Regions from separate parts of the Homo sapiens genome. Here regions 1, 2, 3 and 4 are each linked to region 5. Evidence: promoter capture Hi-C in 16 types of primary human blood cells and fetal thymus (Javierre and others, 2016). All regions are on one chromosome and are shown on one strand. The core of a region is centred on a gene start or on the middle of the fragment in contact, and the rest is flanking DNA. Distances in the headings are between cores, read along the strand shown. Region 1 overlaps KCNQ5 (potassium voltage-gated channel subfamily Q member 5). Region 2 overlaps KCNQ5 (potassium voltage-gated channel subfamily Q member 5). Region 3 overlaps KCNQ5 (potassium voltage-gated channel subfamily Q member 5). Region 4 overlaps KCNQ5 (potassium voltage-gated channel subfamily Q member 5). Region 5 holds the start of KCNQ5-AS1 (KCNQ5 antisense RNA 1).

Region 1 (4,631 bases), core at 1,393-3,892, 460 kb after region 5:
AAGTTGGCTGGTTGTGATACAATAGATATTGGAGAAGACCGTGGAGAACTAGAGCAAGCATTTTGTTCCTAAAAACAATATAGAGCGTTTTTTGTTTTGTTTTGTTTTTTTAATACTGTGCTGGCCAAAGAACATAACCATGTGAGGAATTGTCCAATCCCTGTAATGTTACAGATGGGACTGCCAAGCATTAAAATATCTAAGGAAGTATTTTATGAAGTGGCTTTGGACAGAGATAACTCTACTGAGGCTCTTTTCTCCACATACTTGAAAGCTGGGACCATGGATCTGAAGGATCTCACAAGAAGGAGGTCACTCCAGGAAATCCTCAAGTCCTGGGGAACTCCAGGATTTTTCCAGTTCCCCCTCAGGGAAGAACTCATTTGATTCTCCAAGGCAACCCAGGAGCAAATCTAGGATAGGGCTAGAGAATCCTCAAGGGAAAATTTAAATAATTTAGACTGACTCCATATTCTATAAGTCAGAAAGGGGCACTGAAGATATTGAAAGGGAATGGTTCACAGGTTTATCCCATGAAAACTCTATCACATCTTCTGAATGTCCTGGGATCACAGCATGATGATGATAAGCTGTGGGGATAAGCTTAAAGGGGCAACTGTGAAGGCGCAAGATCCGGAACAAAAGCTGGCAAAACAGGTTTACTTAGGGCATGCATGCAGAGGCTGCATCTTTTGGGCCACATAAGTCATATTATCATCAATATTATGGATTTGAAGCATCTATGGTTTTAATGTCAAACATTAATTATCCATCCTTGACTAGTTCAAAGAGAGAGACTTTGGATCTGGGTTTGAATTTCAGTTCTGTTACTTATTAGCTAGCTGACACAAGGAAAAGTCACTTCATTCTTCAGTGGCATACTTCTCTTGCCTGTAAAATAGAGATAATAAAACTTATCCAGGAGGGTTGTGATGCTAAGAGGTAACGTGTAGATGCAAAGAGCCCAACAGAGAATAATTACTCAATGAATAAAAGCTATTATTATCTCTTATCATCATTGTTATTGTTATCATAATAGTAGTTACAAACTAGCATCATCACACAGCAAGCCCCCGTTGCTTTATTCTCACATACACAGAAAGCCCCCATTGCTTTCTTCTCACGTCCTCAATGTTGTAACTTCCAAACATGCAGGATCTGCGTGCTCTATAAGAGAGCTCCAATAAATGCACAGCTCACTCAACTTGTGTCCTGGTTTACAGAAGTAAGTAACAGGAGAAGCAGGGCTTTCATAGCCCTTCCACACTTTTTTACTCAAGTGCTTTGGTATACAATTAGTAAGCAGTGTTTCCAGCAGCTTCTGATTTGCAGTAAGTAATTGCAGTCTAGTGCTCTTTCTTCTGTTGCCACTTGCTAAACACCCACTTAAAAGTATCAGATCACAAAACTCCCTACAAATTGAAATTTATGTTTCCTTTTGGGTTATTTAGGACTAATCCAACAAAGCCAATGAGGAAACATAATGCTAATTTATACTTTTAGTTTCATAGCACTACCTTGGTTATTTTTATACTTAATTGAAAGGGGATATTTCCTCTTATATTTTTGTAAATGTGGATTTTGGGGGGAGTTCTAGACAATGAATTTACACTAGCAAATGCTAGGCAAAGTAATGAGAAGCAAAATTAACTTACTGAAGCATTTTAACGAGTAAAAAAATGGTTATCTATTGCCTAAATAAGTCAAGGTTTTTCTTTCTGAAGGTATCTTCATTTCATTGGCTGTGATTTTGTTTAATTTGAGAGAGAAGGCAAGAGTGTTATCATTCTCCAGTTGGAAACTAGCATGGATGGTATTCCTGCTCCTACTCTTCAGAATTTTAGTATAAACAAAATAAGCTGATCCAAACACACATTAACTGATTGGTGGATAAACAAACTGTGGTATATCCACACAACTGAATATTATTTAGCAGTAAAAAGAAATGAAATATTCATACATGCTACACCATGAATGTACCTTGAAAACATTAAGTGAAAGAAAAGGCACAAAGGGCCACATATTACATGATTCCATTTATACCAAATGTCCAGAATAGGCAAATACATAGAGATAAAAAATGGATAGAAGGTTACCTAGGAAAGGGGTGGTGGTAGGGGATGGAGAGTACTGCTTATGGACAAGGAGGCTTCTTTTTTAGAATAATAAAAATATTTCGGAATCCCATAGTGATAATGGTTGTTTAGCTCTGTGGATATCCTAAAACCCACTGAATTTTATACTTTTTAAAATTTTTTTTATTTTTGAGATGGAGCCTTGCTCTGTCACCCAGCCCAGGCTGGAGTGCAGTGGCACGATCTTGGCTCACTGCAACCTCTGTCTCCTGTGTTCAAGCTATTCTCCTGCCTCAGCCTCCCGAGTAGCTGGGATTGCAGGCATGCACTACTACATCCAGCTAATTTTTGTAATTTTAGTAGAGACAGGGTTTCATCATGTTGCCCAGGCTGGTCTCGAACTCCTGACCTAGGGCGATCTGCCCACCTCAGCCTCCCAAAGTGGGGATTACAGACGTGAGCCACCATGCCTGGCTGACTTTCATACTTTATTATTTTTATTTTATTATTATTATACTTTAAGTTTTAGGGTGCATGTGTACAATGTGCAGGTTAGTTACATGTGTATACATGTGCCATGCTGGTGTGCTGCACCCATTAACTCATCATTTAGCATTAGGTATATCTCCTAAAACTATCCCTCTCCCCTCCCCCCACCCCACAACAGTCCCCAGAGTGTGATGTTCCCCTTCCTGTGTCCATGTGTTCTCATTGTTCAATTCCCACCTATGAGTGAGAATATGCGGTGTTTGGTTTTTTGTTCTTGCGATACTTTACTGAGAATGATGATTTCCAATTTCATCCATGTCCATGCAAAGGACATGAACTCATCATTTTTTATGGCTGTATAGTATTCCATGGTGTATATGTGCCACATTTTCTTAATCCAGTCTATCTTTGTTGGACATTTGGGTTGGTTCCAAGTCTTTGCTATTGTGAATAGTGTCGCAATAAACATACGTGTGCATGTGTCTTTATAGCAGCATGATTTATAGTCCTTTGGGTATATACCCTGTAATGGGATGGCTGACTTTCATACTTTAAAAGAGTGAATTGTATGGTAGCTGAATTAAAATTCAATTTTCTACCTAGAAAATTCTTGCCTGTCATCATCATCATTTCCCAAAACAAACATTCTCTGCAAGTTTACCTTGTGAGGTTCAGTGAATTCTTGAGTGACACTGCATTAGCAAAACAAGTTTTGAAGTCCTTGTTTATAAATCTCAACTTGGTTTCCATAGTTTCATAAACAAAATACTCTGCCAATTTTATATTTTGAAAAAATTGCTTTGAAGATTCTTTCATTTTATTGGCTTTTCTAATAAGATAAAAGAAGTGCTTCATGTCTTTTATTTTTATTTTAGTTTTTGGAAAGAAGTTGAGTCAAAACGGGATTAAGAATTCTATTGTATGGCTTCTTGAAAGCAGCAGAAAATCAAATATGGAACATACCCAAAGTGGGAAAGAAATAATTACTTAATTCAGCACATTAATAAAAAAGATCTTACAAATTAAATGTTGTTCCAAAGACATCTTAAACACCTACTACAGCATCATACACATTTATTGAGAAAATGCCAAGTTTTATATTATGGTATTCTAGCAACTCAATGCAATAAAAATTTCCAGAAAAACAAATGGAATAATGTAATTTTTATAAAAAATACGATACATATGACCAGTGTTACTTTTTTTTATTTTTTTGTTATGCATTTGGAAATGCCACTAATGCAAGGTTTTATTTAATAATTGAATAATAATGTAGGGTAATGTGGTGTTGAAGAGAACAAGCCCTGGGGTCTATCTGATTTGAATCCTGATTCCTCTATTTATGGCCTGGAGAAAGTTTCTTGATCTTTCTAGGCTTCAATTTTCTCCATCTGTAAAATGAGGATATGGTGTAGGGTTGTGAGAATTCAATGTAATAATGCACTTAAAGTGTTTAATATGATGTTTGGCACATGGTGAGCTGAAAGCATTATTATTATCATCATCTTTTTCTTAGCATTGCTTAATGTCCTTTTATAGGATTATTTCTTCTCCTAGCAATACTTCTGAGAGAGTCAATAGATTTCAGCTAGAGAAGCAAGGTCACAAACCAATTCAGCCCTACAGTGAGATACTTTTCATTTGTTTCTCTCAAAATATTCAAGTTGTAATTCCAAGAAACCATTCATCCTTTATGCTAACAGGCCTCTAACCACAATTTAATAAAATTTCTTTTTTTCCATAAACAAAGCCAAACATAATATCTTGTTCATCTGATTATAAGCAGAATAGCTGCTATCTGAACACTGCTGTATCACAGACAATAATGGCAGTAATTACTAGCCACCGCACCCCCAATCACCTAAGACATGTGGTATCCATCAGTGTAACAAAAAATGAAAAGAGGCAAACAAGTCTGCTCACTCAACTTTGTATGTTGATATTTGATTTATAGTTCAATAGAGTTACATCTATTCTATAAGTAATTCCTAGGTACTTAGTATGTTTTGAACATGGTGGATGCCTAGAATAAATTTCTCATTCAGTTGAATTCCTTAGTATTGTGTT
Region 2 (5,253 bases), core at 869-3,368, 430 kb after region 5:
GAAATTGGCCAGGCTACGGATAAATAACACTCTCACTTACCTCTGTCAAATTAAATAAATATTCACTAATAAATAGTTTGCATGCACTTCTTTATAATACAACATTTAAACACCAATTTTGGTCCCAATTGAAAGACAATTTATGACAGGAACAAATACTATGTTATTTAGCTTAACTGTATAATTTTAGAATTCTTGCCTACATTAAAAAAATCTCATCCAGTTTACAAAAAACAATTGGCTCACAGAAGCTATATATTTATTTTTGTTTGCCCATTTCCTTTATTATCTCCTGTTAGAAACAATTTCTAGCATTAATTTGTTTATTCTAAATATGATGAGAAAAATCCATCAGATTTATTTTCCAGACTCGCTGGTGCCCATGAATATGATCTTCAAGATATTAAGAGGAAATCAAGTTTTTGCTATTTTTGAACTGCCTTGACATTAGCAGTTATCATTTAGAAACTGACAGAAATTAGCCAGTATATGAAGGAGTTCTGACATGTATCAGCTGACAATTAAACTGGTCAGATGGTCATCAGTGAAAGCACTTTAGCTATCAAACAATACCCAAGGTAACTATCCATACTCATGATAAAAAGATATTTTCATGTCCTTTTGTAACCCACACAATATTAAGCATGAATTATATAAGCAACTGTTCCTAAGCCATATCAGAGAGAAAAGGAAAAGCAGAGTATTTAACAATATTGCATGGGATGTGTTATAAAGGCTTTTTTTTTTCAGTTTAGTGGAGGATCCATTTCCATCTTGAACTCCAAAGATGGTATGAGCCTTTCTACCAAAAGGGTTATGACAAGCTCCTCCATTGCTACAGATCAGAGACAAGAACTTTACAAATAAAGAACAAAGCAGGTATTGCAGCATTGCACAATGATGGGCAATGCTTTAGAGAGCATAAAGTATGGAATCTAGGAAATTCTTACAAACATAGCAGTTGATATGAACTTAATACCTAAGATAGTTAATTAGGTAGAGATTAAGACTTAGTAAGAAGAGGCCTTCAACAACAAATGGACTCACTAGGAACATATGTCTCTATGTTGCTCAGAATCTGCTCCACAGCAGTTGTAATTGTTCTTACAGAGAAATAAATGAAGTCTGTGTAATGGGTAAGGACACATAGGTGAGCTAACATTTGAGTTGAGATTCAAAGAATGAATGGCATTTTATCTTGCACGTAGGGGAAAGGGAAACTCATTCCAGTTAGGGAAATGAGATGAAAAAGGCATAACTCCGGATGGAAGTGCATAACTCTCTCAACACAACACAGGATCCAGGTAGACTGTATTTAGGATTTTGGAAATGATACGGGATGAAGCTAGAAAGGCAAGAGAGTCTGCACTTAAAGGTCTGGGAATATCATCTTAAGTGGTTAAGTTTTACTCTACTGTAAAGGAGAAGCCTGAGAAGGGCAGTGACATAAGCCTGTCTAGTCTCCATGCCCCTCTCTAAGACAAAGAACCCTCTGTGGGCTTCAAGCACTTATTCCTTTAGCCTAGAATAGATGCATAAAAGGAACTTAACTGATGTTCTCTTGTTGGTTAATGAAGATTTGTATCAGTTTCTTATTTTAGCAAATCTTGGCTGACAATATGGAATATTGACTGGAGAAGAGAGAGGCCAGAGGCACCAGAACTATTAGGAGATCACTGCAACTGCTGGGAAAACGCAAATCATTCTATGAACCAAGATGATTTGGAAGGTGGATATGAAAAAAAATTGTAGAAGCCAAATTAATAGAATTTGGTGATTGGTTGGACTTCTGATGAAGGTAGAAAATTTTTGTAACTCAGATGAACAGGTTGATGGGATGGTGATGCTTCTCTCAAAGATAGGAAAAGCCTTTCAGAGGCGAACTTATGACGGCTGGGGAAGGGTGGTGCAGGAAGAAAAGGAAAGAGTCACGTTTGGGACGCCTGGAGTTCAAAATGCCTGTTTGGCTTTCATGTGGAAACATCCGAAATGGGGCTGGGGCTTAAAAGTCAGCCAGAGATGTTAGCAAGCCAAGATGTTTGCTTGGATTTCAAATGTGTAACCTGATATTAGGAATTGCATCTCTGACTAAGCTGCAAACCCAACCAGCATTTTTATATCTACCTCCTGCCGTGCGACTTTAAGCATGTATTCATTTATTTATTATGTACATATTACTGAGCACCTAAAATACATCAGGCACAGTTTTGGGTCTGGGAATGCAGCAAACAGGAGAGAGAAAGTTTTTGTTGCCACGTAGATTATCTTCCAAGGGAAGACTGACCAAAACTAAGTAACTAATAAACATCTATTTTTAGAAGGTATATACAGGTGGTGATATAAAATTGTTTTACTGCTCATCTGAATCTTAATTATGACTCAAATTATGTGGTTATGCATGAAGTTAATAAAGTTTTTCTTATGCAGAAGTATAAGGGAGTACAGAGTGAAGTAACAGGAGGAGGTAGTAAAGCAAAAAATTATTGAGCTTTCATCCAGAGAGGATACTCCAAGTGAGCTTGTCAAGAAAACCTATTGGTGTTCTATTAGTTGCTGACATTTTTCCCCAACTGTCATTATGGTCATAATTTAATACAAAGAATGATGATGTTATCGTATATCCACCCAGGCTGAGAATGTGTCAGAGATGTGCTTTCAAAGGTAGTTCCAAGCGGCTATTAACTGAGGTAAATCTTACACAAAATAAATTAAATCTTATTAGATTCAAAGATTGACAACAGTGACAAACAGATTTAAGTATTTTAAAGCTGGTCTTGCTTTTAGGATTCGGAAGTGTTCATTCATATGCTAGGCTTGCTGCTGCATGCTACTCACTTCAGAGTGTATATTCTCTTTCCTTCTTGAAGCGCCTTCTTCCCCTGGCTTCTTAAACCTTGGACTCTATGAATTTCTGTCTGTGACAATTCCTTTGCTATTTCTTTGTAAGTTCATTCTCTTCTTCCAAGCCTATAAATGTAGGTGTTCCCCAGGGTTTTATTCTAGATCTGTTTCTCATTTTATGTCAAACTCTTTCCTAGGTAATCTATCCATTCTTCATTCATTCATTCATTCCTAAAACAAACATGTATTCAGTACCTCCTGTATACCAGCACTGTTCCATGCATTTGAATACATCAGTGAACAAAACAGATAAAATCCCTGTCCACAGAGAACTGAAACTGTAGCATATTTTGATTACTACACATATGCTTTGACCTCCAAGTTTATATTTCCAGTCCATCTGTTCTCTGAGCTCCAGATTCATTCACTGACTGATTCTCCACTTGGATGTTTCAGAAGCATCTCAAATTCAGCATGGCCAAAATGGAACTGTCAAGTTGGGGATAAAATTGTGAGTCCAGTGTTTTCCACTTCTAAAATGGCACCAACTTCCTTCCATCTGAAAAACCCAGAAATGTAGAAGAAATCCTTGTCCCAACAAATTCATTCTTAAAGATCAATCCGCTTCTCTCCAACTCCACTGTCACCTTCCCAAATCTAGCGTAATTTATCACCTGGGACCTTTGGATAGGTCTCCCTGCACCTACACTTTCCCTACTCCAATTCTCCACAGTCAGATGATTTTAAAAATGCAGATCAAATCATGTCAGCCCTTTAGGATAAAGGCCAAAATCCTTCGCAGAGTCCACCAGACCTTGTATGATTTGGCTTCCCTCTACCTCTCTCATCTCCCCAGGCACCACTCTCATGTGTCATCTCTAGCTTCGGCTTTCTTTCAGATTCTCAAATGCACCAAGTGCTTTTCACATGTTGTTCCTTTATGCTTCTTTTCAAGGGGTTAACTCTTTTTTATCAGTCTGCTACTGCTGCCATAACAAAATGGCACAGACTGGGTAGCTTAAACAACAGAAATTTAATTTCTCACATTTCTGAAGGCTGGGAGTCCAAGATCATGGTGTTGGCAGGGTTGGTTTCTCCTGAGGCCTCTCTGCTTGGTTTGTAAATGGCTACTTCTTGCTGTGTACTCACATGGTCTTTTCTCTGTGTACATTTATTCTTAATGTCTCTTCTTCTGATAAGGAGGACACCAGTCCTATTGGATTAAGGCCCCACTCTTACAACCTCATTTTACCTTAGTTACTTCTTTAAAGTCCCTATTTCCAAACACAGTCACATGGGGAATTAATTTCCACATATTTGCTAATTTTCCATGATCCTTTCTCTTATTGATTTCTAGCTTCCTACTACTATGGTCAGAAAAGATATTCAATATGATTTGGATCTTAATTTTGATCTTGTTTTGTGGCCTAACCTAGTATCTGTTCTGCAGAATGCTCTGTGTATACTTCAGAAGAATGTATATCCTGTTGCTGTTGGGTAGAATGTTCTGTATATGTCTGTTAGGTCCATTTGGCCCAAAGTATAATTCAAGTCCAATGTTTCCTTATTGACTTTATGTCTGAATGATATGTCCAATGTTAAAAGTGGGGGTATTGATGTCCCCCACTATTATTTTGTTGCAGTCTATGTCTCCCTTCAAATCTCTTCATGTCTGCTTTACATATTTAGATGCTCCAATGTTGGGTGCATATGTATTTACAATTGCTACATTTTCTTAATGAACTGACGCTTTTATCACCACATAATAGCCTTCTTTGTCTCTTTTTACAGTTTTTGACCCAAAGTCTATTTTGTCTGAAATAAGTATAGCTACCCCTCTTCTCTTTTTATTTCCATTGGCATGTAATAATTTATCCCATTCCTGCACTTTCAGTCTGAGTGTATTTTAAGGTGAAATTAGTCTCTTGTAGGCAGCATACAGTTGGGTCTTGTTTTGTTTTGCTTTTTAAATTTTTTTAATCCAGTCATCCACTCTATGCCTTTTGATTGGATAATTTAATCCATTTACATTCAAAGTAATTACTGAATGGTAAGAACTTACCAATGCCAGCTTATTAATTGATTTCTGATTGCTACATTGAGAGTTAAATAAATTTTGTATTTTGGGGGGACACAATTCAGTTCTTAACAGAAGCTTCCCCTGATTCCCTTGGGTAGGCTTCCAGTTGTCCATTCTTTTAACATCTTGTATTTGTTACAGTGCACTTTCACCATTTGTAATAACAAGCACTGTTTGCCATGTAGAAGACCAGGCCTTTTCCTATCTCACTGACCTTATCTGTTACCATTCTTTCCCTCACTCACTCCATTCCTCTCTAAACATGTTATTTCAACCCCTCAAATTTTCTGTGCCCTTATATAGCTTTATTTTTCTTCATATCACCACCCACC
Region 3 (4,799 bases), core at 1,952-4,451, 450 kb after region 5:
ATCTTTAGTCACTGTTAATTTGAACCTGAGCAGTCGTCTGATCAACAGTATTTCATACCACAAAGCAGACTACAGAAAAATATTTTCACTTCCCTTTCCATAAAAGCTATTCCCTAAAAGAGAATCTGGATCTAAAATTTAGAAGGTCCCACCTGATTTCAGCTCTAATAGCTGATTCAGATTTTTAACCATTCATGTACCATCTTACCCTTAGTTTTTCCAAAGTGCCATCCTTATCTATAAGATTCAGCCAAAACAGTGTTAGAATGGGTACCTTCTGGCACTTCCAACAAGAAATCAATATAATCTCTAATTACGAGACTGTGTTACGGTTAACTCTATTCTGCCTTTTAAAGTATAATAAATCCTTAAGAAAACTTAAGTCGGCTGGGCATGGTGACTTACACCTGTAATCCCAGCACTGTCGGACGCCAAGGCAGGATGACAGCTTGAGGCAATAAGTTTGAGACCAGCCTGGGCAACACAGCAAGACCCCATCTCTACAACAATAAAAATAAAAAAATAGCCAGGCATGGAAGTGCATGCCTGCAGTCCTAGCTACTCAGGATGCTGAGACAGGAGGATTGCCTGAGCCCAGGTTGCAGTGAGTTATGATCATGCCACTGCACTCCAGCACTACTGCCTGGGCAACAGAGTGATATCTTATCTCTCCAAAAAAAAAAAAAAAAAAAAAAGAAGAAGAAGAAAAAAACACAGATTTACTTCCAAATTATCATGGAACATTTATTCTCTTTTCCCTATTTAAAAACCTTTCAACATGTTCATATAATGACCAGAAAATCCCCCCATAATTGCAACATTCAAACAAACAAACAAAACAAGCCAGGTGCGGTGGCTCACACCTGTAATCCCAGCATTTTGGGAGGCCGAAGCAGGTGGATCATCTGAGGTTGGGAGTTCGAGACCAGCCTGACCAATATGGAGAAACCCCATCTCTACTCAAAACACAAAATTAGCCAGGCGTGGTGGCACACGCCTGTAATCCCACCTACTCAGGAGGCTGAGGCAGGAGAGTCGCTTGAGCCTGGGAGGCGGAGGTTACCGGTGAGCCAAGATCACGCCATTGCACTCCAACCTGGGCAACAAGAGTGAAACTCTGTCTCAAAAAGAAAAAAAAAAGTCTAAATACATTCATTTTTACTGGTGCTTTACCTATTTGGGTTTTAAAATAAAGAATAACTTTATTCTGAAGCTACTGACTTGATTACTTGAGTAGAAATCAATTACAAACATCAACGGACACACTTTTATTATTTATTTGTTTATTTTTGTAGAGAAAGGGTCTCACTATGCTGCCCAGGCTGGTATTGAACTAGTGGACTCAAGTAATCCTCCCACCTCAGCCTCCCAAAGTACTGGGATTACAGGCATGAGCCACCGTCCCCAGTTGATACACTTTGAAAAGGTATTTTGTTTAACCAAGAACTTCCTTAGTAAAAATTGTATATGTTTAAGGTATATAAATTGATATTTAGATCTATGTATACATTGTGAAATAATCGCCATAATCAAGCTAATTAACATATCCATTTACCAATTACACCTCAATAAAGCTGAAAAAAGGAACCCTTTTAATAAAACAATATAACAGGTGAAATAGTTAAAAATGTAAACATCCACATAAAACTGCAGTAACTAAACTCATGTCCTAAGTAATTTATTTTATTGTAATTCTCTTGACTTTCATTACCAAATATTTCTTCATCACTCCTGCCTTGCTTATTTTTCACAGAAACCTAAGGAATTATATCCTAATTTCTTCTAAATTTTCTCATTCTGAAATTCATCTTGGATTACAGTTTGTTTTACCACCATCAGCTGCTTTCACTGTATATAGTTTAAGGTTTAAATCTAGAATTTAAGGTTTAAATCTAGGAATAAATCTAGAATTTGCATACCAGATTTCAGAGAAGAAGCTGCTTGAAATAAAGTTGTGACCCACCATGAGTTATTGTGTCCTATAACTTCTATATGGCCCTTTCCTCTTCCCTTGCATCCCACTTGCTCCTTCCACAGTTCAATTGGTACCCAGAAGTGCATAATTGGTAAGATTAGGATAAATGAACATGGGGAATGACCAGTAAAAACAACCATCCTATCTGAGCTACAAAATCAATCCTCACTGAAGTACCGTTTCACAGGGAAAAGATCGCTCAATGATTCTTGAGGAGAATGAAATCACAAAACTAAACTCTATTTGACTTTAATGAACATCTGATTTATAGCTTAACAGTTTTACAGAATGAGTTAAAAGAATTTTACCTCAACTTCACGGTGATGAACATGACAAGATATGAAATTAAAGAATGATACCGCGATTGACCTCAAATAAATATCAGACTTTGTAAGGGGTAGCAGTAAACTGATTATCTTCATCTTTGATAGAGTTTTATCACTAGAGCTACTAATATGTGGCACTGAAGTGTCAACCATTATTTAGTGCTAAAATTACTACTATCACTATATATATTTCTTCTTTATGCAAGATATGTATTCTTGAAGCTTTGAAAAAATAAATTTCATATAGTAAGCCATATTTAAGATACTGGGAGTGTTCCTATGCAAAGGTGTTTCCAATTATAAATCCAAGTATGCCTCTATTTAAAAAAATCCCCAGCTTACTATATATTTTTAAGTCTATGTTTTAATATGCAAGATTTTCTTAAAGCAGATAACCTATAAATAACACTAATTTATGGAGTTCTTTGATTGTGGCCCACTAAGAGATAAAGAGTTGCCACTCAGCATCACACAAAAATGTTGGAGAAAAATTGCAAAATAGATCTTGCCCATTTATTAACCTGCATCTTTTTTGAAAATGTCTTATTATTCTTCTGTAATTATCTCATGCAAGCCTAATACACTCATTTAAAAAGGAAACAGATTGTGTAAAAATTATGATGAATAGGAGAAAACATCTTGCTTCATAAAGTGCCTAATATTAAAAATTTTTTCACACCCGTATTTTATCAAGTATTGTTTGTAGATTTATATGTGGTTAATAGTTTGACAATTTTTCTGATTACCATAATTCATTTTATTAAAATGCTATTTTCACTGCTGTATAATATTCCACTGTTTGCCCATGTTACTAATGAGGGCCTCTTAAATTACTTCCAGGTTTTCATGATTAAAACCATTGCTGCGAACAACCTTTTAGATATCTTTGTGCACATGTGTAAGAGTTTCTCATGCGGAGAAGTGAAATTGCTGGGTCACAGGATATACATTCTCCCAAATTTACTTGTTTTTTCCAAATTGGTCTACTAGATATTTGTACCTTCTTACCAGCAATTTAATAGCCACATTCTCTTCTCATGTTAAAATAAACTAAAACTGCATGCATCAATATGGCTGAATCTCTCAAAACATTACTTTTGGCTCACTTTTAAAAAAATTGTTACCTTTTCTTTATTTTTTATTTTTTAGAGACAGAGACTTGCTATGTTGCCCAGGCTGGCCTTGAGCTTCTGGGCACAAGCTATCCTCCCATCTTAGCTTCCTGAATAGCTGGGATTAGATACATGAGCCACCTCGCCCAGCTCTTGAAAACCTTATTTTTGAATGAAACAATTTAAGTACAAGTTTAAATCTTCCCAAAACAAGTGTATGTGTGTATATGTGTATGTTTGCACATATATATTTATATAAAATCATACATAATATTTATAATCCAATATACGTAATATTATATATTATAAACACAGTCATGCATAGCTAAATGGCATGTATATGTTCTGAGAAGTGTTGTTACATGATTTTTGTCATTGTGTGAACATTTAAAGATAATAACATTCAGAGAGGAAAAGAGGTGAATGGGATGGAGAGGTGGGGTTTCAGCAACCTCTGTAAGCTTTGTTTTGTTGTAAGAAAATTTGAAGGAAATGTGACAAGATGGTGGAACCATTTTATATAAGAGGAAAGTACGGGAATATTTATTGTTTTCTGTACTTTTCAGTAAGCTTAAAAAATCATAAAGAAAAAATAGAAATAAAAATGTTATTGAGTTTAGGTAAAAACTAAGGTCCTTTTGAAACAGCATTGAAGTCATGAAATATAGACACACAATGCTATGTTTTACAACAACGGTCATTTATGTGTACAAATATCTTGACGGCAGTTGTCCTAGAATATATATAGAGAGGTATATGTACAATGCAGCACTAACCGTAATAGCAAAGACATAGAATTGACCTAGGTGCCCATCATTGGTGGACTGGATAAAGAAAATGTGGTATATGTATATATATCATGGAATGCTACACAGCCATAAAAATGAATGAAACCATATCCTTTGCAGCAATATAGATGCAGCTGGAGGCCATTATCCTAAGTGAATTAACTCAGAAATAAAAAACCAATACCACAAAAGCTCTCCGTGAGACTTATAAGTGGGAGCTAAACATTGGGTACTGATGGCCATAAAGATGGCATCAACAGTCATAGGGAACTAATAGAGCGGGGAAAGGTTTTAAAACTGTTGGGTACTATGCTCAGTACCTGGGTGGTGGAATTATTTGCATCCCAAACTTCAGCATCATGCAATATACTCATGTAACAAAGTCACATATGTATGTCCTGCATCTAAAAGAAAAGTTGAAATTATTTTAAAAAAAGGTGTAGTTCCAGTATCGTGACAATAACACATTTCTTGAGGTAGTCTGTCCAGGTATTCTTACCTTGGGTCCTCACTGCCATTCTATGAAGTAGTCAGGGTGGCACAACCACCTTTATCTTATAGATGAGGAAATTCTGGCTCAGTGAGCTTCATTGACTTG
Region 4 (4,559 bases), core at 13-2,512, 490 kb after region 5:
AAAGTTGCCTACACATTACAGAATGTTTTGCTTGATTTCCTTTCAATGTCCCGGAGAATATTTGGAATGTTTCTTAATTTACATATGATGTGGTGTTATTTAGATATAGATCCCATGAAAGATAAAAATTTTTTAAAGTGAGTGTAAGTGTGAGCATTGAGACAGGAGAAGGAGGTAATTAAAAGAGATAAATAAAGCTTATAAAAGCCGCTTCTTACCCTAACCACCGTCATCAAAAAAGAAATCTGTAATTCATGAATAAAATATAATCTGAGTTTTACAACAGCATTATAAAGATTCTTTTTGAGTATAAGTTTTAAAAGTGTTATTGTGTTATAAAATTTAATGGGAAATTTTTCTTTCCCTTAAAAATAAACCCAAATACCACAGACATTTCCCAAAAATTCCAGCTGTCTGCTTGCTCTCCTTGAGTTATTCTATTTTCCTCCATTAGTAGTTTAAAGGTGTACTCTTTGATATGTAATATCATTTTAAGGAGTTCAACAGAATTAAGATTGTTCCAGTATACTCAGCCGTTTATTTTCACAAAATTGAGGTACACATTGCAAAATTAGAGTGTTTTCATTGGAAAACTTTCATTACTAGTTAAAAACTGTCATCTCAACGAAATAATAGACTTCTAAATCGAAGGAGATTTTTGTCCAACAATTTAACAAGTATACTAGTGTATGCATGAATGTGAAATTTTGGAAGGGCCAGGCATAGAAGGAAATAATTTCTAATTTGTCATAAAGTCCAAGAGTATTTCTAGTAAAAATATTTTTACAATTCTACCACACCCCATGTATTGCATTTTTTCTGCTATGTTGTTTTTTCCACTGAAGGAGTCATAGCCCAAGTACATTTCTTTGTAATTACAGAGTATCTATCTATGCATCCATCTGTCCATCCTTTCATTCACTCAGTTCAACTAAAAGAGTCTTCATTTTGTATCTACCAGCTGTCTGGACCTGTTAGGCACTAGGGAAAAGAGATGGATAAAGTACTGCTCCTACACTTAGGGACTTCACAGATGAGATTAAAAGGTAATCAGGTAATTATAATACCATAAGGGGGTAGCTATGTTAAATATATGAACAAATATATAAGAACAAGATAGGAAGAAGGCAGAAATCTCCCCTCATACTTTACCTCCACACAGAAGGTACAATTTATCATTTACAAAACAGTTTACAAAATATTATCTCCTGCATTTGGCCTCTGTTCCTATTCCTTCCCACCTGCCCTCTTAAAATAGGCTGACCCTTTGCAACCTTAATCGACCCAATTTAAACACGACCCCCTCTGACCATCCTCTCCTCCATGGATTAGTTACTGCACATTTCATTCTCATGGCATCTCTAGGTTGATGCACACTGTTTTTCCTGAGTGTTCTCCCTTTAGACTAAAACCACGTGAAGGCTAGGAATATTTCTTTCTTCTTTGTATCACCAGTGCTAACCATGTAAATGTGTGAGGAATGACAAAAAGGAAGAAAATACTTACAAGTAAACAAGACCCTATACTAATACATTTCACTGTGCCCTTCCATATACATATATCCTACCCACTCCCCCACTACTAAGAACTATTCTTTTCTTTCTTGTAAAAAGGTATGCATTTAAAATAGTTTCGCTTTTAAATGGATTTTTCCCCAGAGGGCAAACCACTCATTTACTCTCCTGGCAGAGGAAAACAGTAAAGTGTCAAGATGTCTAAGCCAGTTTGAAAATATTTTGGAATTTCTGTGTTTTTCCCCTTCTTTTTTACATAGCTATATAAATGTGCACCTATTCTGAAAGTCAGCTTGAAGCACACATTTCAAGGTATTTGAAATAGTTTTCTTTCCGTTTTTCTTTTTGCATTTCATTTGACTAAGCAGTTGTCTAAAATGTGATATAACCAGAATGTACCTATTTATATTGGTTACTTCAAAATGCATGTCTATGAGTCACTGTTTTTATACACTTTAGCTAGTCAGCCAGTTCAAAGAAAAGAAAATAGGGGAAATTATTAGAATAACAATTACTAGTTGAATGACCTAATACAGATTAAATTATAAGAAACAAGACAGGAAAAGGAAACTTAGTTTATATCTCACATAAGTGCATTTTAATTATTCCATCAAACCAATAACTATATAAACATAATTTCAGAAAAATGGAAGGTTGAGTTTAACATTATAAAACAGTCATTAGCTGTGTAAATAATGAGTAAAAATATGTAATGGTCAGAAAAAACATAGCACTTGCAATGAGAGACTGTTTGTATTAAATATATTTGGATGTGTCAGTTGCTGCAATATTTATTCAAGGAACCAAGCTTCTGGGATTTCATTTCTATTTGCCACCAGGTGAATAAAATGTGTTAAGTTCATGTTGTCTGTGACCTTTTACTAAAAATGTTATTCCTTAGTCATATTCTGCATTGGTGGTCAGGGTTGGATGCCAAGAATTTGCTTGTCATCTGACTGAGTTTCCTTTTCACGTGTAATGCTTCATCTGAATTACACCATCCTAAATGATTGTACAAGCTGAAGAATTTTCTATGTCCAGTAGTTTTATTCTTTAAAGAAGCATTCAAGAACCATTACAAAACAAATAAAGCAAAGATAGATTCTGTATATTCTGGTCATTTGTGTGCCAAGATTGATGGTGGTTAGTAGAGTATGTAAATCAATGAATTTAGGAAGTCTCACTGAGTTGTACAAACTCTTTACTGGGTCCGTAGCTCCATTTTCAGAGTCCTGTGTGTTTTCACAGAAACTGCACCATTAGTTATCTTCACTGGAGGATTTGACCAAATTTATCTAAGGTAATGTGCCTATACACGAGTTTCCTAACTAAGGTTCTTAAACCCCTTGGTTTATGAACTTGTGGAAATTTATGTAATCATGCATATGTGCACATACACGTGCATGTCTGTTTAAGGACATGCTTCACAGGTTTTTAAAATACGTAGAGATTCTGAAAGAGGCTGTGATCCAAAACTGTTTAGAACCTTAGCTTCGCATCAACAGTATTGGCCAGGGACTCCTGACATATTTGCCACCAGTGTTCTTAGAAGCCCTCTACTGCTGTCCATAGATGCACAGTTGCACATCTGCGAGCAGGACAAAGCCTGTGCTCAAACACAGCCATCTCCAGGCTTCGTGCATTTGTTTGGTCACATGAAGTGGTACCCTGACTCTATCAAAAGCTAATTTCACTCATTTGAGTAATACGACTAAGCACACAATAAAACTGAGGATCTCTGAACTAAAACTGGGTCCTGACCCGTATCATCCAGTTTGGTAGATTAACTGAACATAACCACCTTGAGTATAACCAGCCACATGTCCCTTCTTTGGAATGTGTCTCCACATAAACACACGTAGGCTTTTCTTTTTTTTTCTTCTGAGATATTTCAAACAGAAGACCTCTGAGAATTAAAAAAAAAAAAAAAATGAAGGCCCATGTATTCATCTCCCATTTTGCTATATTTCTGCAGGCTTAGGTTTTAAAAAAATTTAAATATTCACATACAGTAGAAACTCCTGCATATGCCTCCTTAATATCATTTTCCTCTCTTTTTCCCCCTCCATATTTAAAAGCTATCCTAGTATCTACCAAGTCTAAACATTAAAAAAAAATCTATACAACATATGTATGCTGGTCTAAGTAATATAAAAGTATTGGTTGCCATGTTTTAAAATATTGCATAGTTCGTCTCACACTATAAAAATGTTTTTGCACCTTTATTTTTGGCTCAACATTAGGCTTTAGATATATCAATATAGATTCATGTAGCTCTAATTCATTCCTTTCAATTACTGTATGGTATTTTCCTATACAATGACACTGCCAGTTATTTACTCATTATTATCCTTATGGACATTTTCATTTTTTTCTATTACCAATGATGTTGCAATGGGCATTCTATCTCTTGTGCCCACTGCACGATGTTCCATGATGGCTTCCCTGGTCTTGATGGCAAGAAGTGATCCTCAGTTCTTGTGTACAGTGCTACTGTTCTTCCAACGTCAAAGGCTCAGCCTCATCCATCTCAATAGCCATGGTGAATGGCCTTATGTTCTTTATGTTTTAGTACATAATGTGACTGCTATAAATAATTATCAAACTTAATTACCATAGGTTTCTCTGTGTGGTAGTCATCAGTGTATCTGTCTCAACTTTCATACAAGATTGTACATGTTCCCTGGGAGTGGGTTTGTTACATACATGTTCTAATCCATCAAGCTGTCTTGCACTTCTTTATACTTAATAGGTCTTCAATATTTACTGAGTGGCTGAACAAATGAAATAAAAGGGAAATCTTATTTAATTTCATGATGTATGAGATATCTTAACAGTCAACATTACATTCTACTACATGAAGTGACTTTTCTACCCAAATTAGCTTATTCATGCTTATCGTCAATACTGTGATCTAATGGGGGAGTCATTCCCATAGGAACTTACAAATAAGAGAAATAAATTTGCCTCATTATGGCGCAATACATAATGATCTGTTTTGGTCCCTCTCTTTTGATTGCAAAAAGAGCTCCTTGCTGTCCATAG
Region 5 (4,628 bases), core at 198-2,697:
TTGCATGTGGGCTGTCCTTGCCATTTGCTTTGACCAACAGGACATAGTGGACATTATACTGTGATAGGTTGAGCCTGAACTTCAAGAGGCCTTCAGATATCAATGTACTGCTCTTGGGAACCCACCACCACCATGTGAACCAGCCCAGCCTGCTGGAGGATGAGAGACCACATGAGCAAAGAGCAGTAATTCTAACTGAGACCACCTTAGTCCAGTCAGCACCAGCCAACACAGCAGCTGAACACAGAGCATGAGTCAGTTCACTTAAGACCAGAAGAACTGCCTAACAGAATTGTGGGCTAAACAAATGGTTGCTGTTTTAAGCCACTAAATCTGAGGGAGAGGGTTAGCTATGCAACAGATAACATGAAGAGATATAGGGTCATGACATTTTTCAATCAAAACACAAAATTATGGGAACAATAGTTTCAAAAGAGTTTTGGGAATGATTAGTCATCAATTCCAATAGAACGATGTGGTATAACAATTGCTACTGCATTAGATTAATGAAAGACGCAAATCTCAGGGTTTCATGTGCAAATGATTCTCTTGGTAGCTGGAGGTAGAGAGATTAATTTTTCCCAGGTAATGTTATTCTGAGGTTTCTATGCTTTTGGAGTTCAGAAATTGTTGTTATGCATTATACATGGCAAAAGAAGAAAAAGATGGCAAGGGAAGAAAAGCCGAACAAATTAGATGTTGAAAATAAAATACCTGTAAAAGCAATTTGGGACAATGTCAGGGAGTTTTATACTGCAGGTAGCAAAAAGCAAAGCCTGGGTAACTCATCTCTTTCCCATGTCAGTCATCCATTGCAGAAAAAGGATCCTGGCCTTTACTTAACCTTGTTTCCCCCCTTCTTTACCAAGTAGAGCACACCATGAAAGCGATTAAATATAATTTTAAAATTGTGTCATATTGGTTTCTGTTTATGCAGCAGACAACTAAGTGTGACTTTGAAGGAAATAATTTGAGATATATGAAGGAAAAATCACCATGCAGCTGAAAAGTGCTTCTCTTAAATATGGGCTAAATTCTGTGATTTGTGTAATGGTTAATTTTGTGCTTATTTTGTGCGAATTTTGGACGTCACCCACAGGTTATTTCTGAAAACTATGAAGTCTGAAGAATGAGGAAGGTGCCTTTTGTTCCCCTCAGTGCCAATCAATACTGTAACTGAGGTGGGCTGGGGTGGTAAAACTTACAGACAAACAGTAAGTTCTTTGGGGTGACAGTTGTCACGCCTCCTCCCTGCCTTCTAAATGCCCAGAAACATGCTAGCTCTGAGTAGCAGCCCTCAAATACCTTCTGATATGAATTGAAATCCAGTGGAGGGCTTATTCAAGTTCTAAGAATGAGCCGCTATGGAGCACACACATAAACCTCACAATGGTGGGTGGGACACACCTGATACACTTCTTAGGACAGAAAGGACTATGGCTGACAGTGAAAGTGGAAAAGAAACAGTGGGAGGAATGAGAGGCAAGAAGCAGCGGGTAGCACTTTTCTCGGTATCAAAGAGACGTGAAACTAGGGTAAGGACAGAAAACTCACTCCTGGCATTCCTCAGCCAATCCTTGCTTTCCTCTTCTATTTCTTAGTATAGAATTGCTAGTGAGGATACGAGTTAATGGCTAAGGAAGATACTTTGCATTGGTCCAGAAGAGCAGATTATAAAAACTCAGATTTGGAAGAAAATTTCTTAGAGGTTTTCTGGTTTGATCTCCTTAAGCTTCCAGAAATTCCTGACTGTTGATCATCCAACTTTGATTTGAATGCTTCCAATTATGGAATCCACTCAATTGCTGTGGAGTCTCTAAGTGCTAAGCTGCCATTATATTGAACTAAATATTGGTATCACACACCTTTTAGTTCTGCTTCTGCCCTTTGAAGCAACCAAGAACATATCTTCAACCTCTTGAAAAGCTGAAGAGGGGCCATACATTGTACAAGAAAGAGAGCTGCGTTAGAAGTTATGACACTTTGGTTTTGCAACTGACTAGTTCATGTCCTGCTCCCTCAATTTATTTATTTATTTATTTTCGAGATGGAGTCTTGCTCTTGTCGCCCAGGCTGGAGTGCAAGGGTGCAATCTCAGCTCACTGCAACCTCCTCTTCCTGGATTCAAGTGATTCTCCTGCCTCAGCCTCCTGAGTAGCTGGGATTACAGGTGCCCGCCACCACGCCTGGCTAATTTTTGTATTTTTAGTAGAGACAGGGTTTCACCATGTTGACCAGGCTGGTCTCGAACTCCTGACCTCAGGTGATCCATCCCCCTCAGCCTCCCAAAGTGCTGGGATTACAGGCATGAACCATCGCACCTGGCCTCCTCATTTTATTTAACTTGTTGCTGCAGTAATCACATACTCAATATTTTGTTAATATTCCTTTTGAGAGTCTGCACTAAGAGTGGAATATAATTGCGTAGCTATAGGTTGAGGCCAGGATTTTTTTTTTTTTTTGAGATATAATACAAAGGATACTGGACATAAAATGGTTAGACCAGAAGTTATAAACCCATGTCGTTAAAGGCAGGTAGGTAACGGAGAGGTCGAAAGGAATGGGGAATTGGTGGTTTGGGTTCCTGGAAAGACAATAGGGACTGGTTGAAATCTGCAATTTAAAAGACATAATCTATCTGAAGGCATTTGTGGTAGCCTGACTCTAACATGGTCCCCAGTGGCCCTCATCTCCTGGTATTACCCCCCTGTATAGTCCCTGCCTACACTGTACAGGGTTGGTCTTTGTGACCACTTACACATGAAAGAAGCGATGGCATAACACTTCTGAGCTTATGTCATAAAAGACTGCAGCTTCTCTCTGCGTACTCTCTCAGCTCTCTCTGGGGGAAGCCAGCTGCATGTCATATGGACATTCAGGCAACCTAGGGTGTGAATAATGTGGCAAGGAAATAAAAGGCCTGCTAGCAAATGCTCAGTTGAGCTTGGTAATGGGTCCTCTCCCAGCATCTCCAGCCAAGAGCTTGACTGCAACCTCATATGAGATTTTGAGCCATAACCATTCAGCTAAACTGCTTCTGGATACCTGACCATAGAAACTGTGAGATTATAAGTATGTGTTATTTCAAACCACTAAATTGAGGGTAATTTGCTATGTAACAATAGATAACTAATACAGCATTCAGATTCATTTTAAAGTATCAATGTGGACATGCACACACACTTTGCTGATGAAACAAAATATAGGGCTCCAGTTTATAACCCTGGGTTTCTCAATGAAACCTGGATCTACAGAAGCCAAAAGGTATGGTTAAGGCAGCACTCGAAGGTCATTTGGCAGCTCAGTTTCTGCTGGAAGGGAGGAGATGAAATCCATTCAGAGCTCAAGCAGGAAGCTATTTTATCCACCAACAGAAACAGAATATAATTTTCCTTATCACTGTAGAGTAACAACAAACCATGGGACAGAACCTAGAGAAATCTGACAGAAATCCTGTTCTATAATACAAAGAGCACTTGGATTAGAGTAGAAAGCCAGGTGGAACTTCAGTCTTATCAAAATAGAAAAGCATTTCCCCGTCACTAAAAACTAAGAACAAGCATTTCACAAAAAGTAATGGAAGAAGCAACCTGTTATGGTCTGAATGTTTGTGTCCCCCCAGAATTTATATGTTAAATCCCTAACCCTCAAAGTGATAGTATTAAGAGGTGGGGGCTCTGGGAGATGGTTAGGCTATGAGGGCAGAGCCCTAATAAATGGGATTAGTGCCCTCATAAAGAGACCCAAGAGGAACCTCGCCCTTTCCATCACGTGGAAGTGGGCCCTCTCCAGACACAGAATCTTCCAGCACCATGATCTTGGACTTCCAGCTTCCAGAACTGTGAGAAGTAAATATTTGTTGTTTATAGGCTGCCTAGTTTATGGTATGTTTTTTATAGCAGTCCAAACAAACTAAGACACAACTCTTCTCAGAAATCCAAGAAATAACGTAGTCACTTGGGGTCTGAAACCAGAGATTGAGAGGTCACTCTCCACCCAATAGGAGAAGCAGATCTTAGGGGGACAAGAGTACATATGAAACACAGCAGAGGAGTAGGATATGTCTTTGAATGAAGATGCCTGAGGGACTGAATAAAGAACCTGGACAACTAAAGAAAAAAGACACCTATGGATCAGAATTGAGACAATTTCTTCAGGTAATGGTTTTTACCAATAAGTTAAGGAAGTACTGAAAGTGCGTTTTAGAATCCTACTGAATACCCTTTGTAGGGTTTTGCATAGAATTACTCCAACAATTACGCTGAATATAGAGTTAAATATGAAGAATAAATTTCTAGAGTTTAGATCCAGTCATTCTCAATAAATCCTTTTGTTCTTAACATTAAAGAAAACCCTCAGATTTTGTTACAAATAGAGGATGACAGGAATGGGTGCCCTACTCAGTCAGAATCCCAGGCCAGAAATCTGCACAAACAGGTTAAGTGGAAGCCCTAATAGGATACTGCTTTAACAAGAATTATTTCTGTCAACACAATGCAGAGTCATTATCAGGCAATTTCAGAAAGTGCCAGGAAGCATCATGTGGAAAATTATAATCAAGGCCTGGCTGAAGTTGGGCCATCATTATGGAAAGTCAGGAAAAATGCTATGTGCAGCGTGGTGCTTGG

Evidence for each region. The method cuts DNA at HindIII sites, captures the fragments that hold promoters and counts their contacts. A CHiCAGO score of 5 or more calls a contact.
Region 1: a fragment that was not itself captured here is called in contact with the fragment with the promoter of KCNQ5-AS1 in region 5 in 3 of 17 cell types (M2 macrophages, erythroblasts and M1 macrophages); the score reaches 6.2 in M2 macrophages.
Region 2: a fragment that was not itself captured here is called in contact with the fragment with the promoter of KCNQ5-AS1 in region 5 in 1 of 17 cell types (M2 macrophages); the score reaches 5.3 in M2 macrophages.
Region 3: a fragment that was not itself captured here is called in contact with the fragment with the promoter of KCNQ5-AS1 in region 5 in 1 of 17 cell types (naive CD4 T cells); the score reaches 5.5 in naive CD4 T cells.
Region 4: a fragment that was not itself captured here is called in contact with the fragment with the promoter of KCNQ5-AS1 in region 5 in 10 of 17 cell types (M2 macrophages, M0 macrophages, erythroblasts and 7 more); the score reaches 9.9 in M2 macrophages.

The regions. Positions count from the first base shown.
Region 1 is chr6:72,677,678-72,682,308 of GRCh38, reverse strand. The region is part of intron 1 of KCNQ5 (potassium voltage-gated channel subfamily Q member 5); the gene reads right to left. It overlaps KCNQ5-IT1 (KCNQ5 intronic transcript 1), which reads right to left. Exons shown (of 4, transcript NR_120503.1): 4 at 3,751-3,955. Among named protein-coding and RNA genes, the nearest start is that of KCNQ5-IT1, 49 kb to the right of the region's middle. The HindIII fragment of the contact is 4,074 bases long and covers 606-4,631 here.
Region 2 is chr6:72,709,956-72,715,208 of GRCh38, reverse strand. All of the region lies in intron 1 of KCNQ5 (potassium voltage-gated channel subfamily Q member 5), which reads right to left. Among named protein-coding and RNA genes, the nearest start is that of KCNQ5-IT1, 82 kb to the right of the region's middle. The HindIII fragment of the contact is 5,761 bases long and covers 1-4,998 here.
Region 3 is chr6:72,694,545-72,699,343 of GRCh38, reverse strand. The region is part of intron 1 of KCNQ5 (potassium voltage-gated channel subfamily Q member 5); the gene reads right to left. Among named protein-coding and RNA genes, the nearest start is that of KCNQ5-IT1, 66 kb to the right of the region's middle. The HindIII fragment of the contact is 1,351 bases long and covers 2,526-3,876 here.
Region 4 is chr6:72,647,661-72,652,219 of GRCh38, reverse strand. The region is part of intron 1 of KCNQ5 (potassium voltage-gated channel subfamily Q member 5); the gene reads right to left. All of the region lies in intron 2 of KCNQ5-IT1 (KCNQ5 intronic transcript 1), which reads right to left. Among named protein-coding and RNA genes, the nearest start is that of KCNQ5-IT1, 19 kb to the right of the region's middle. The HindIII fragment of the contact is 2,125 bases long and covers 200-2,324 here.
Region 5 is chr6:73,140,333-73,144,960 of GRCh38, reverse strand. It overlaps KCNQ5-AS1 (KCNQ5 antisense RNA 1), which reads left to right and starts at 1,447. Exons shown (of 5, transcript NR_046621.1): 1 at 1,447-1,535. The region is part of intron 10 of KCNQ5 (potassium voltage-gated channel subfamily Q member 5); the gene reads right to left. The HindIII fragment of the contact is 1,820 bases long and covers 1-1,734 here.